2 separate regions of the Homo sapiens genome follow, and region 2 is linked to region 1. Evidence: promoter capture Hi-C in 16 types of primary human blood cells and fetal thymus (Javierre and others, 2016). All regions are on one chromosome and are shown on one strand. Each heading gives the region's core, a stretch centred on a gene start or on the middle of the fragment in contact. The rest is flanking DNA. Distances are from core to core; before and after follow the strand shown.

The links. The method cuts DNA at HindIII sites, captures the fragments that hold promoters and counts their contacts. A CHiCAGO score of 5 or more calls a contact.
Region 2: a contact is called between a fragment that was not itself captured here and the fragment with the promoter of OR4C5 in region 1, in 1 of 17 cell types (fetal thymus). The highest score is 5.0, in fetal thymus.

The regions. Positions count from the first base shown.
Region 1 is chr11:48,365,129-48,367,758 of GRCh38, forward strand. It overlaps OR4C5 (olfactory receptor family 4 subfamily C member 5), which reads right to left and starts at 1,337. Exons shown (of 1, transcript NM_001348223.2): 1 at 357-1,337. The coding sequence starts at 1,337. The coding sequence ends at 357. The HindIII fragment of the contact is 2,303 bases long and covers 49-2,351 here.
Region 2 is chr11:48,666,617-48,669,246 of GRCh38, forward strand. No RefSeq gene overlaps it. Among named protein-coding and RNA genes, the nearest start is that of OR4A47, 180 kb to the left of the region's middle. The HindIII fragment of the contact is 635 bases long and covers 1,004-1,638 here.

The DNA.
Region 1 (2,630 bases), core at 87-2,586:
TTTGTTTATTTTAATTATTTGGCCTGTTAGTTATATACTCTATACCGAAGCTTTGCAGATAATTATTCTACTAAACACATAAACTCATGGGTTTTCCATACACTGTAACATTTTTATGTTGACTAGCAATGTCCCCCTGATTAATAATTTGTAAATGTGAAGAAGTTTCAAATTGGCAGAAACATTAGTCATCATTTAATCAGATATTGATCTTTTATGAAAAGGCATCATTAAAGATTCCAGAAAATGAGGGGAATAAAATATACTTAAACTCACTATTCTGACCTCAAGACCTTTACCCTTTTCATTAGTCATACCTGTTGTTAAAATATGAGTAGGTTCTGTGTTTATCTTCTCTAATCACACAAATTGTTACCCCAGATTATTTGGCTCCAGAGCTGCTTCATGGCATTTTTCACCTCTGTGTTTCTGAGGGTGTAGATTAAAGGGTTTAACATGGGTGTTACCACAGTATAAAACACAGACACAGCTTTATCAATAGGGAAGGTGATCATGGGTCGAAGGTACACCAATATACAGGGAACAAAGAATAGGACGACTACAGTGATATGGAAGGCGCAGGTAGAGAGAGCCTTCCGCTGTGAGCAGAGGATTAGGACGTAAGAGGTAATAAGAATAGAAAAAATGAGCATACACATCAGCCCACTGTTGGCGGCAACAAAGAGTCCAAAGACGTGAGTGTCAGTGCAGGAGAGTTTTAGCAGAGGGAAAAGGTCACAGATGAAATGGTCAATGACATTGGGGCCACAGAAGGGCAGCCAGACTATTAAAAGCATTTGAATCAGAGCGTGAAGAAATCCCCCGACCCATGCCATGGCCACCAGGAGGCCACATACCTGCCTGTTCATTGTGATCAGGTAGTACAGGGGCTTGCAGATGGCCACATAGCAGTCATAGGCCATCACCACGAGCAGAATGATCTCAACTCCCCCAAAGAAATGTTCTACAAAGAGCTGGGTCATGCACCCACTGAAGGAAATAGTTTTCTTTTCAGTGAGTAAGTCAAATATCATTTTGGGGGCCATGGTAGAAGAGGAGCAGCCATCTATGAAGGAAAAGAAAGACAGAAAAAAATACACGGGGGAGTCCAGGGCTGGGCTGGTGGTGATTGTCACCACAATGATTAGGTTGTCTACCATGGTGAGAAAGTAGATGAGTGTAAACACAGCAAACAAGAGTTTCTGTGCCTCTGCGTTCTGTGTCAGGCCAAGCAAGATGAATTCCGTTATGTTGTTCACTTGCTCGAAATCCAGTTTGGTATTTGGATAATTGATTTTTCTGTGAATAGCACAAGGATTGCAATTTGACACATACATTTTGAACAATAAAATAATTTTGGTCAGGATTATTTTCTGTAACACTGATGGAATCCCTAAATCTATAAACCCAAGACTAAGTTGAGCTATGTTATTCATGACATAATGAACACAGATACCTCTTCTCTCTCATACAGAGACACACACAGACACAGAAAAACACATACACACATTCATTTATGTACACAAACATGATTTTATGATGTTGACATGTCAGGCATTTTTCCTATGATTGTACATGGATGGATATTCTCTCAATCACCCTTACAGCATTTTTTTCCCCATAGAAAAACAGCAGTAAAAAGAGGAGGAGCAGAGGCTTGAATTCCTGTCAATTTCCTAGTTTCTTTTTTTTTTCGTTTTTTTTTTTTTTTTAACCACTCATGTTCATGAGGCTACGGTGCAGAGTTTGTTATTCTGGTTATTTTTAACTTGTTTCAGGGTAACTATAAAACATCAGGTGAGTTCACTTTGAAATTAAGGATGATGCCACCACATTTCAGAATCAACTGAACTGAGTGAATGTTTGAGGCTGCAGTAAGATACTCCATGGCAGTTAGATTTGAGAATTTATGCCACATCCAAACAGAATTGTCTAAGAATACAATCAAACACTTCTGGAAGCATATCCTGGAAGAGGATAAAACAGCATGATGCAAGGCAGCATTCCCCAGATGTATCTGAAACTTTAGAATTCACTTGGAGAACTGTCATGTTTAGAATTCAGGGCATTTTGCAAATCAAAACCCAATTTAAGGATGACTATGAAAAATTATATGGATCTGTTTAGAAAACATAATTTTAAGGTGAGGGAAAAAAAGCACCATAATTTATTGGACAGAGTGTTTTTTAGAATCAGATGCCTAATTTTTACATTTTATCTTCACTGACTATTAGCCACATGATATTGTGTACAGATCTTAGTCTCATTGTGCCTAAACTTTTTCATATATAAAATGGGAAAAATAACAAATGGAATGGAGGAACTAAAGAATATCATGATTAAATATATCAAGCTTTGTATCCTAAAGGTAAACCTATAGCTTACCATGTACTCCACATCTTGATAAAGAACACAAGTAAACAAAATTTTGCATATAATTATTTTTATCTTTAAGTTATTTATCATTGTAATATTAAGAGAGAAAATAAATGAACTCAGTACTCAACTCAAGGTAAATAACAAGCAATTATATTCAGAAAAAAAGGTGTAACACAGAAAGACATCAGGCAATAAAAAATTAGACTTGATAACTAAATTAAAAAGCTTTTTGATATTTTAAAAATACAAAG
Region 2 (2,630 bases), core at 71-2,570, 300 kb after region 1:
ACTGCTTTTTCATGTGTGCATTCATCTCATGGAGTTAAACTTTCTGCAGATTCAGCAGCTTGCAAACACTGTTTTTGTCCATTCTGCAAATGGACGTTTGGGAGCTCATTGAAGGCAATGGCAAAAAACCAAGTATCCCAGGATAAAAACTGGAAGAAAAATATCTGAGAAACTGCTTTGTGATATGTGCATTCACCTCACAGCAATAAACATTTCTTTTCATTCAGCAGTCTGGAATCACTATTTTGGAAGGATTTGTGAAGTGATATTTGGGAGGGTATTGAGGACTATGGTTAAAATGGAAATATCTTCAGATAAAAACTAGAAATAAGCTTTCTGAGAAAGTGCTTAGTCATCTGTCCATTCATCGCACAGAGTTAAGCCTTTCTGTAGACTCAGAAGTTTGCAAACACTGTTTCCCCATTCTGCAAATGGACATTTGGGAGCTCATTGATGCCAATGGCAAAAAAATGAATATCCCAGGAAAAAAACTAAAAGGAAGCTACCTGAGAAACCCGTTTTGTGATGTGTGAATTCATCTCTATGACTTCACTCCACAGTTTGGAAACACTGTGTTTGTAGAATCTTTGAGTTTATACTTGGGAGTGCATTTTACGAGAAACTGCTTTGTGATGTGTACCTTCATCTCACAGAGGTAATCCTTTCTGTGGATTTAGCAGATTGAAAACACTGTTTTTGCCCCTTCTGTGAATGGACATTTGGGAGCTCATTGAAGCCAATGGTGAAAAAGCCAATATCCCAGGAAAAAAACTAGAAGGAAGCTATCTGAGAAACCGCTTCATGATGTGTGCATTCATCTCACAGAGTTAAGCCTTTCTTTTCATTCAGCAGTCTGGAAACACTGTTTTGTCAGAATCTGTGAAGGGATATTTGGGAGCTAAATGAGGCATATGGTGAAAAAGGAAATATCTTCAGATAAAAACTAGAAATAAACTTTCTGATAAACTGCTTTGTGCTGTGTGCATTCATCTCACAGAGTCAAAGCTTTCTTTGGATTCAGCAGTTTGTAAACACAGTTGTTGTAGAATCTGCAAAGTGGTATTTGGGAGCTTAATGAGGCAAATGGCAAAAAAGAGAATAACCCAGAAAAAAATATAGTAGGAAGCTATCTGAGAAACAACTTTGTGATGTGTGAATTCACATTTCAGAGTCAAAACTTTCTTTTCATTATGCAGTTTGGAAACACTGTTTTTGTAGGGTCTGCGAAGGGATATCTGGGAGTGCATTGAGGCCTATGGTGAAAAAGGAAATATCTTCAGATAAAAACAAGAAAGAAGCTAACTGAGAAACTGCTTTCTGATGTGCGCATTCATCTTATGGAGTTAAAATTTCTGTGGATTCAGCAGATTGCAAACACTGTTTTTGTCCATTCTGCAAATGGACATTTGGGACCTCATTGAAGCCCATGGCAAAAAAGTGAATATCCCAGGATAAAAACTGGAAGGAAGCTATCTGAGAAACTGCTTTGGATGTGTGCATTTGCCTCACAGCAATAAACCTTTCGGTTCATTCAGTCGTCTGCAAACACTGTTTTGGAAGTATCCACAAAGGGATATCTGGGAGTGCATTGAGGCCTATGGTGAAAAAGATAATATCTTTGGATAAAAACTAGAAACAAGCTTTCAGAGAACCTGCTTTGTGATGTGTGCATTCCTTTCACAGAGTTAATTCTTTCTGTGAATTCAGCAGTTTACAATCAATGTTTTTGTCCATTCTGCAAATGGATATTTGGGAGCTCATTGAGGCCAATGGCAAACAAGGGACTATCCCAGGATAAAAACTAGAAGGAAGCCCTGTGAGAAACTGCATTGCGATGTGTGCATTCATCTTGAACGGCTAAACCTTTCTTTTCATTCAGCAGTTTGGAAGCACTGTTTTCATAGAATCTGCACAGGGAAATTTGGGAGCTCACTGAGGCCTGGGGTGAAAAAGGAAATACCAGACAAAAACTAGAAAGAAGCTTTCTGAGAAACTGCTTTGTCATGTGTGCATTCATCTCACAGAGTTAAAATTTCTGTGGATTCTGCAGTTTGCAAATTCTGTTTTTGTCCATTCTGTGAATGGACATTTGGGAGCTCATTGAGGCCAAGGGCAAAATAGTGAAATTCCCTGGACAAAAACTAGAAAGAAGCTATCTGAGAAACTGCTTTGTGCTGTGTGCATTCAACTCGCAGAGACAAACCATTGTTTTCATTTAGCAGTTTGGAAACACTGTTTTTTGTAGAATCTGCAAAGTTATATTTATGAACGTATTGAGGACTATGGTTAAAAAGGAAATGTTTTCAGATAAAAACTAGAAAGAAACTTTCTGAGAAAGTGCTTAGTGATCTGAGCATTCATCTCACCGAGTTAATCGTTTCTGTGGATTCAGCAGTGTGCAAACACTGTTTTTGCCCATTCTGCAAATGGATATTTGGGAGCTCATTGAGGCCAATGGCAAAAAAGTGAATATCCCAGGATAAAAACTAGAATGAAGTTTTTGAGAAATAGCCTCGTGATGTGGGCATTCATCTCACAGAGTTAAATCTTTCTTTTCATTCAGCAGCTTGGAAGCACTGTTTTTGTAGAATCTGTGAAGTGATATCTGGGAGGACATGGAATCCTATGGC